Linked DNA regions of Homo sapiens: region 2 is linked to region 1. The links are contacts of gene promoters, found by promoter capture Hi-C in blood cells and fetal thymus (Javierre and others, 2016). All regions are on one chromosome and are shown on one strand. Each heading gives the region's core, a stretch centred on a gene start or on the middle of the fragment in contact. The rest is flanking DNA. Distances are from core to core; before and after follow the strand shown. Region 1 holds the start of FBXO47 (F-box protein 47). Region 2 has its middle 20 kb from the start of STAC2.

Evidence for each region. Contacts are between HindIII fragments. The CHiCAGO score rates a contact against its expected background, and 5 or more counts as called.
Region 2: a contact is called between a fragment that was not itself captured here and the fragment with the promoter of FBXO47 in region 1, in 2 of 17 cell types (activated CD4 T cells and naive B cells). The highest score is 6.1, in activated CD4 T cells.

The regions. Positions count from the first base shown.
Region 1 is chr17:38,964,832-38,969,721 of GRCh38, forward strand. It overlaps FBXO47 (F-box protein 47), which reads right to left and starts at 2,572. Exons shown (of 11, transcript NM_001008777.3): 1 at 2,398-2,572. The HindIII fragment of the contact is 5,025 bases long and covers 1,962-4,890 here.
Region 2 is chr17:39,243,917-39,248,806 of GRCh38, forward strand. It overlaps the pseudogene LOC101929578. Among named protein-coding and RNA genes, the nearest start is that of STAC2, 20 kb to the left of the region's middle. RefSeq lists an enhancer at 438-1,012. The HindIII fragment of the contact is 2,096 bases long and covers 1,675-3,770 here.

The sequences.
Region 1 (4,890 bases), core at 1,322-3,821:
AGACAGATTATCGCTCTACTGCCCGGGCTGGAGTGCAGTGGCATGACGCGATCTCAGCTCACTGCAACCTCCCCCTCCCAGGTTCAAGTGATTCTCCTGCCTCAGCCTCCCAAGTAGCTGGGATTACAGGCGTGTGCCACCACTAGTAGCTGGGATTACAGGCGTGTGCTACCACACTCAGCTAATTTCTGTATTTTTAGTAGAGACGGGGTTTCACCATGTTGGTCAGGCTGGTCTGGAACTGCTGACCTCAGGTGAGCCACCAGCCTCAGCCTCCCAAAGTGCTGGGATTACAGGCGAAAGCCACCACGCCCGCCCATTACACTAAATAATTATTTAAACATGTGTACCACACAGCGACTTTGTGTCACTCTATTGTTCTAATTCAGAAAACAATGTCTTTTGTGTATACATATACATATACGCATAATTACAACTCCAATCGAAGGCTCCTTGTTTCTGAAGTAACAACTAAGACATTTTCATCAAAGATATATAATTGTATCTGGCCAAAATGCATTTTCTCCTTTCTACAAATTGCTAAAGTAACATTGTTACTTATACATCTTGAAATGTTACATATCAACTTACATCAATTTAAAATTGGTTACACATTTGAAAACATAACAAAGAAATTTAGTGTTTAGTGAAAAGTACACTCTGAACCTCCTTTGAAACCATACCACAGCGATTGGGGTCAGTATTCAGTGAACACTTAAATTAGGAGGTATTTTAAAATTATCATTAAAATTACACAAATAGGCCGGGCATGGTGACTCACGCCTTAATCCCAGCACTTTGGGAGGCTGAGGCCGGTGGATCACGAGGTCAGGAGATCGAGACCATCCTGGCTAACACGGTGAAACCCCTTCTCTACTAAAAAAAAAAAAAAAAAAAAAAAATTAGCCGGGCATGGTGGCACGCGACTGTAGTCCCAGCTACTCTGGAGGCTGAGGCAGGAGAATCGCTTGAACCCGGGAGGCGGAGGTTGCAGTGAGCCGAGATCACACCACTGCACTCCAGCCTGGGTGACAGAGCAAGAATCTGCCTCAAAAAAAAAAAAAAATAATTACACAAATAACAACTTTACACAATACAGCTAAACAAGAAGAAAAAAATTAAGTTCACTTATAAACACTTTGGTTTATATAATTTCAGACTTTTACATACATATATTTCTTTTTAACAAAAAAGAGGGATCACTATATATAATACTTTGTAATCTGCTTTTTTCAATGAATTCTCTTTCCATGCTAATAACCTTCTACAAGTAATCATATTTTAATGGCTATGTGTCATTCCACCAAGTAAAATAATCTTAATTTGTTTAATCCATAAGGCTGTTTGTAACCTTAACTTTTCACAGTAGGCGTTTTGTTTGTTTGTTTGCGATGGAGTTTCGCACAGTCTCCTGGGCTGGAGTGCAGTGGCGCGATCTCGGCTCACTGCAAGCTCCGCCTCCCGGGTTCAAGCGATTCTCCTGCCTCAGCCTCCCTAGTAGCTGGGATTACAGGTGCCCGCCCCCACGCCCAGCTAATTTCTGTATTTTTAGTAGAGACGGGGTTTCACCGTGTTAGCCAGCCTGGTCTCGATTTCCTGACCTCGTGATCCGCCTGCCCCGGCCTCCCAAAGTGCTGGGATTTACAGGCGTGAGCCACCGCACCCGGCCAACACAGTAGGTGTTTTAAAGCATTTTTATTACAATAGCATAAATCCGGCCTTGGCTTCTTCCTGTTTCTCTGAGAAATGTGGACAGTGGGGCTTGGGCCCGTGGGCTCTTCAAAGACTGTCAGTCACCAGGCGGGGACTTCACTGTGTCAACTGTGAACTACATACATGTTTAAAATAAATATAAACAAAAATTTAAAAATGATAAGCCCAAATTCTTCTAAAACTCAAGTCTCCACTTATAGTTCCTTATTTTCCTCACTCAGAGCTGGACGTTTCGTAGGGAAAAAGCAAGCTTTTGTGAAAATTCTAAAGGTATAATCCTAAATTATTTCTGGTTTCCGCTCACCCCTCTAGCGAATAAGAATCACAGCCCCAAATAATAATAATAAAATGATGTTTCATGCCCCCTGTTCTATCCCACTAATTTTGACCGCGCGTGAAAGGTTTTGAGGGTTCAATTGGATGAACCTCCCCGCCCCCCACACCTTTAAGATAAAAACTACATTCACAGGGATGTCTGTTTTAACATAAAACTCTTGTAAGGGCCCCACCCCATCTGTCGGGCAGCTGCCCCCAAACATCTCCAAAGCCGCAAACTAGGGAAGCCTAAAGGACAAACTGGTCAACAGGAGAATCAGACCACACGGGGTACATGTTTCGCTCCCTTCAGTCCATGAAAGATGAAATTATCGCAATAAAATACTGGGAAAAAAAACCCTCTTTTACCACAGATTTTGACAGTTTTTCCGGCTACAGAGTCACAGGAAAGTGGGAGTTAGTCGTTTTGCCCCACCATCCTCAAATTTCTTAGTGTTTAGAAAAGAAAATATCTCCTCAAGAGCTTCCCGCCAGGAGGCGAGAGGGTCACACTCCCGTAGGCTCCGGAGCTGCAGCCCTACCCACCAGGCGTCCCCGCGGCCTCTAGAATATTGTAGAATCTTCCCAAGAGCCCCCGCGGGAAGGAGGCCCGCCCCCTCATGAATAGCAAGCAGCCTCAGCTCTCGTAGTGCCCGCCTCCCTCATGAATATTGTAGATCTTCCCAGAAGCCCTAGCGGGAAGGAGGTTCCCCCCCGCCTCCCGCCTCCCCGCTTTATGAATAGCAAGAGAGCCAGCTCCCATGGTGCCCTCCGTCTCATGAATAACTAACAAGGGCGAGGTTCCTGGAGCCCAAACTCAGGCCTCAGCCACCCTTCGCTCCAAGCTGAAGACAAGAAGGGGCTGGAGCCGTTACGGTGTGGGGAAGGGGAGGGTGTAGCCCAAGATCCTGAACGTGGCGAGCCACGTCTCTGCTCCACTGCCTTTCCCTTCACCTAGTTTTGAGACAATTTTTGAGTTCCTCCCACCCCCACTGACTCCAGTAGGGCAAGTTACAAGGGGTTTCATCAAACCTTTTGGTGGAAAAAAACCTCCAGACATTCCTTTTTAAATTTGTCTTGCCGGTGCGGTGGCTCACGCCTGTAATCCCAACACTTTGGGAGGCCGAGGCGGGAGGCTCCCTTGAGTCCAGGAGTTTGAGACCAGCCTGGGCAACATAGGGAGACCCCCACCCCCAGCCATAACCCCGCTCCCGGTCTCTAAATAAACACATAAATAATAAATCTGTCTGGAATCAAAGGAAGATGTGTGTCTCCATCCTCTCAAGATGAAATCAAGACAAATCTTTCTAGCTAGGCCTTCCTGGCTAGAAGATTAAATTCTCATTCATTCATTTCTTCATTCATTCTGTAACTATTTATTGAAGCCTGCTCTGGGCCGGGCACAGGAGTAGGCCCTAAGGATGGAATAGAGAACAAGACAGATACGTTTCCTGCTTTAATGGAGTTTATTAGCCTAATGGGGAAGATAGAATGAACAGACAGAGCATCTACAGATGTTGAGAGCAGTTCCGGTGAGAGCAGCGTGACAGAGGAAATAAGACAGAATGATGGGGTGTGTGTGTGTTGGCGGAGAGCTACTTTAGATAGACTGATACTCAAGGTCCCTTTGATATGACGATTTGAGAACTGATGGAGGAGAAGGAGCCAGTCAGGAGAAGGGCTGAGGGAAGAGGGAATGGGGGAAAGATTCTACTTTTGTAGATCAATTCTACATTATACCCAACACAAAATATATAAGGAACTACATAAAGACTGAGTGGAAATTTAGGATTAGTTGGCATGCTGTTATTTTATATAGTCACATATATTCATCCATTTGGCTTTGTATCTTTTTTTTTCCTGACCTCAGGTGACCTGCGTACCTCAGCACTGCAAAGTGCTGGGATTACAGGTGTGAGCCACCACTCCTGGCCTTTTTTTTTTTTTTTTTTTTTTTTGAGACAGAGTCTTGCTCAGTCGCCCAGGCTGGAGTTCAGTGGCACGATCTCGGCTCACTGCAGCCTCTGCCTCCTGGGTTGAATTGATTATCTTGCTTCAGCCACCCAGTAGCTGGGACCACAGGTGGGCACCACCATTGTATTTTTAGCAGAGATGGGGTTTCGCTATGTTGCCCAGGCTGGTCTTAAACTCCGAGGCTCAAGCGATCTGCCTGCCTCCCAAAGTGTTGGGATTAAAGGTGTGAGCCACCGGGCCCAGCCCTGGCTTTGTATCCTTTTGCAGCCAATTCTTTTTTTTTTTTTTTTTTTTTTGAGATGAAGTCTGCCTCTGTTTCCCGGGCTGGAGTGCAGTGGTGTGATCTTGGCTCACTGCAACCTCCACCTCCCAGATTCAAGTGATTCTCCTGCCTCAGCCTCCCAGGTAGCTGGGATTACAGGCACCCACCACCATGCCCAGCTAATTTTTTTGTATTTTTTAGTAGAGATGGGGTTTCACCATGTTGGCCAGGCTGGTCTTGAACTCCTGACCTCAGGTGATCCACCCACCTCAGCCTGCCAAAGTGCTGGGATTACAGGCTTGCGCTACCGTGCCCAGCTGCAGACAATTCTTTTTTTTCCCCCTGTCTCCAACATTGATTAGAGGTCCTTGACCAAGTATCATCCCGTTGGCAGTGGGCCAGACGCACATAATGGAAACAAGGATCCTTAGTGGTGAGAATTTAGCTTTTACTCAAAGTGTCATGGGAAGTGTCATGGGAAGTCCTTGAAGAGTTTTAAGCAGAGAGTGCTATGATCTGATTTACATCATTAAAAGATTGCTCTGGCTTTTATGTGGAGAATAAATGAGGCTAAGAGTGGAGGGTAAGATCTGTTAGGATGTTGCAGGACTAGAATGGTGGCTCTG
Region 2 (4,890 bases), core at 1,473-3,972, 280 kb after region 1:
GAAACTGAAAATGGACCGTGAGAAGATGGAGAAACAGCCCCTGCATGAGAGGGACAAGTATCAGACCGCCTGCGAGAGCACTGTCTTCTTGGAGGTGTGTGTGTTGGGGCGAGAGCAGGAGGGGAGAGTTGGAGAAAAGATCCTCACGGTACAGATGGGGAAATGGAGGCCTCCAGGGCTCTGACTGCTGCAAGCCCATCACAGCCCCCTGGGGACTCCACCACTTCCTGCAAAGGACACTCTCTGCCCTGTCTGTGGTTGTTGAAGCTTCCAGGAGCTGACGCCCTCCAGGCTGCCTGTCCTACGCGGGCCATCGCCACCTCCTTCCTTGTGTGCTCCCTCTGCCTGGCCCCCTCCTCCTCCTGCTGCTCCTCCTGGCCAGCTCCTCCAAGGCCCTTCCTCACTGCCCCAGGCCCGCCGGGTGGTTAACTTCTTCCTTCCTGTGGAAACCCAGTCCACTTGTCAGGCCCCTGGTCAGCTCTTAATATACAGGTGGAGAGAAGGGAGCAATGACCAGCCTTGCTGTGTGTTTGCCTGCAGTGTTCGCCATGGCCGGAGTCCCCTGCAAGGCCCCGGCCACCTCTCAGCTCTCTGGCTCTGACCTCTCCCCACTCCTGCAGGCTCTTGTCCCCAGAAAGGTGAGGCAGGATGAGCACCTCCTGTCAGCCCTTTGGGGTGAGAGTGAAGAAAAGAGCTCCCAGCCCAGGCATGGAGCAAAGGGCAGGGCTGGGGATTGGTGGGGAATTTGTGGGGTGAGGACAGGAGCAAGCTCTGTGTCCCAGGGCAGGCCTGGAGGAAGGGTGTTGGTGGAGGGAGACTGGCTGTAATGCTCCGCAGAGTTCTTGAACCTTTGCTCCTCCTCATAGGCTCTGTTCCTCACCACCATTCGCTCTGGATACCTTGGGGTGTAGCCCAGTTGAGGTGAGCCTTCCCCTTCCCACTCTCCACTGTCCCAAAGCCTTCTCCGCAGCTTCATCTCAAGCTCCAGAATGGAGTGGCCCTGCCCCCTGGTGGCCAGATGTGATATGGCCATAGATTGTAACTTACCTGATAAGACTGGGCAGGAAGAGCCTCCCTTCTCAGACTTGGGACCTCCCAAGGGAGGGGCTGTTTCCCTTTCTTGTTCTGTCCCTGGGTCCTGGTATTACCTGGACCATCCATTTTATACCTCAGGATCTGAACCAAAAAGCCCCCATCTCAGAGACACAGCAATGGTTGCATCAGCACTGGTTCTCCAGCTACTGCCGGATGCTGGCCAACTTCACTGGTGAGGCTAGTGTCTGGCAGGAGCCAGACCTGTAGGGGACTGAGAGTGGGTGGGACACACAGGCAGGAAGCCTGTCTCTGTCCTGGCTTGTTGTGGGCCCTTCAACTAACATTTACTGGGGACTAAGAGTTGCCCAGCATTGTGCTAGGCTCTCGTCTCACGAATTATCCCATATAATTTATACACTATTCCTTGAGGACAGTGCCCAGAGAGGTTAAATAACTTGCCCAAGGACACACAGCTAACAAGTGGCAGAACTGGCATTTAAATCCAAGCCTGACTCCCATATCTGAGCACACTAGGGCTATTTGTAGACTAATAGACTGTGTCCCTTACTTCCCACCCTTGATCCCAGGCCTCTTTCCTCAGTCTGGCCCTGTCTGACTCTACAGGTCTGGATCTGCTGAAGCTTACATGCCAGGACCTTATCCAAATCTGCGGGGCTGCTGATGGGATCCGCCTTTTCAATACTCTTAGAGCCAGGTGCTGGACACTGCCAACCAGGGTCCCCTTCCCACTGTAGTGGCCCTTACTAACTTAGCTAGCAGGTATGTTTCATACAATTTTTTTTTTAATATGGAGTTTCACTCTTGTTGCCCAGGCTGGAATGCAATGGCGCAATCTTGGCTCACTGCAACCTCTGCCTCAGGTTCAAGTGATTATCCTGCCTCAGCCTCCTGAGTAGCTGGGATTACAGGCGTCTGCCACCATGCCTGGCCAATTTTTTTTTTTTTTTTTTTTTTGAGACGGAGTCTTTTGCCCAGGCCGGACTGCAGTGGCACTATCTCGGCTCACTGCAAGCTCCGCCTCCTGGGTTCACGCCATTTTCCTGCCTCAGCCTCCCGAGTAGCTGGGACTACAGGCGCCTGCCACCGCGCCCGTCTAATTTTTTGTATTTTTAGTAGAGACGGGGTTTCACCACGTTCGTCAGGCTGGTCTTGAACTCCTGACCTCAGGTGATCCACCTGCTTTGGCCTCCCAAAGTGCTGGGATTACAGGAGTGAGCCACTGCACCCGGCTCATACAATGTTTAAGCCAGAAGTCACCTTAAAGACCACTTAGTCCCACTCCCTCTTTTTACAGAAGAAACTCAGGCCCAAGAAGGACAGTGACCAGTCTGAGGTCACAACCCAAAGCTGGCAGGGCTGGGGTGAAAAGCTAGGCTCCTGTGACCTCCTTCTGTGGCCATCCCACCTGCCTCATTCCATTTCTGGGGATAGAGATGTCTGTGGGGTTTTTTCCTCCCCATTTTTTCTCCCCCTAGTGTCCAGCATTCGTTAAATACCTAAGAACTACTTAGTGACCTCCCTCCCTCGAGACCTGGGAGGAGGCTGGGATCTCTCCTAGGATGGGGGCTAGAAGTGGGAGCTGTTAGTTCAGGTATAAGACTGATACATAGACTGTTTTCCTGGCCCAGGCCCATCTGTCACCAACTGACTTTGTATGTGGCTCAGGAGACCTCTAGGCAAGGGAACGAGGTTCCTAAGAACCCTGACTCAGGTGAGGTTCTGGCCTCTCTCTCCAGAACATAGGAAATTCAGGTGTAGCTGCATGAAACCTCTCCCTAGAAGAGGAATGGTGATACCCCACCATTCCTGGGACCCAGGATGCCCTTCTTGGCATTTCCCTACCTTCCATGACCAGATTAGTCCCTCTCCTTCCAGAATGTCTCCTTGGGTTTATTCACCATGTTCTACTCCTCCACCCCACCTGATCGTCACTGCATTAGCATATGGGATTAGAACATCATCTTGTTATGTACTTGGGTCCCAGTCACTAATATGTGGGTGTCCTGTCTTTAAACTGGGGGTTCCCCTCAGACACCTCCCAAAAGATGAGGGATGAGAGGTGAAGTAGACTTTTTTCTTTTTTTTTTTTTTTTGAGACGGAGTCTCACTCTGTTGCCCAGGCTGGAGTGCAGTGGCGCGATCTCAGCTCACTGCAACTTCTGCCACCCAGGTTCAAGAGATTCTCCTGCCTCAGCCTCCCAAGTAGTTGGGATTACAGGAGCCTGCCACCATGCCCAGCTAATTTTTGTAGTTTTTAGTAGAGATGGGGTTTCACCATCTTGGCCAGGCTGGTCTTGAACTCCTGACCTCGTGATCCACCCCTCGGCCTCCCAAAGTGCTGGGATTACAGGCATGAGCCACCACACCCAGCCAACTTTTCCCTCTTTACTTCTCCTCCCCCCACCCCATAGCCATCTTCCTGGCACCCCTGGTTTCCTGTGGGCACATCTCTGGACTCCCTTCCCCTGCTGACCCCTGCCTCTGTGTTGCCCATGCCCCCAGACTTTTATCAAGAGATCTCTCTGGATGAACTCAGTGCTGTAGAGCTGATGGGGAAACTGGCTGAGCTCTGGCCATCCCAGCCAATCAGATCCATCACCTTTTCCACCAGGGCACCGGGGGCATCTTCATTCTCCTCAGTGACCAGATAAAGGGCAGCCATTTCCTGTCGCAAATCCCCACGGAGGCCTCGCTAACACTTCTGCCTCAGATTAAGCTTTCTTTTCCATGGCATGGCTTGTTCTCTTTGGCTCCAATAACAAAATTGCCTTTGTGCCCGCTTCACTCTTACAGGTGGTCCAGAATTTTAAGGACGAATCATACTTTGTGGCTGTGGTGAAAAAAGGGATTTTAGAGGCAGAGGAGTGTGCCTGGCTGGCCCTATAAAGGGGGATAAGAGTGTGCTGAGCATATATTCCGTCTCCTAAATGAGACTAAAAGGCTCTTTGGGGGCCAGGCGCAGTGGCTCATGCCTGTAATCCCAGCACTTTGGGAGGCTGAGGCAGGTGGATCACTTGAGGACAGGAATTCAAAACCAGCCTGGCCAACATGGCAAAACCCCATCTCTATAAAAAATACAAAAAACTACCCGGGCGTGCTGGCACGTGCCCGTGGTCCCAGCTACTTGGGAGGCTGAGGCAGGAGAATCCCTTGAACCCAGGAGGCAGAGGTTGCAGTGAACCGAGATTGCCCCACTGCACTCCAGCCTGGGTGACAGAGCGAGTCTGTCTCAAACGTCTCAAAAACAAACAAACAAACAAAAAACCTCTTTGAAGGGGATTAAGGGGATGTGTCCCAATTAACTAGCAAACACCTGTGAATGCCAGCTTTGTGTCAAGGGGAGAGGGATTTGTATAGCTAAAAGATATTTATTGCTTAGGAAAAACATGACTGAATAAATGCATCCTCATTAAATAAAAAATGCTCCAGTTTCTGTTGTCAGGGAGTTTATTAGAGGGAAAGGTAAGGCCCCCACTTTTCTCCACCTGCCCCTGGCATGATACAAGGCAGAAGGGCAGGTGCTTCCTGGACATCATCTGGCATAGGGCACCTCTGACTAGTCTGCTTGGCATCTGGTTATTCAGATGTTTGCCTTCCACCCCTCCACATGCCAGAGCTGGTCAGCTTGGCTTATGTACACAAGGGGGTAGGAAGAGGTAGATGTGAAGTCGGGTTTTAAGACACGTGTGGCCGGGCGTGGTGGCTCACACCTGTAACCCCAGCACTTTGGGAGGCCGAGGTGGGCAGATCATGAGGTCAGGAGTTCAAGACCAGCCTGGCCAAAATGGTGGAACCCCATCTCTACTAAAAATACAAAAATTAGCCAGGCGTGGT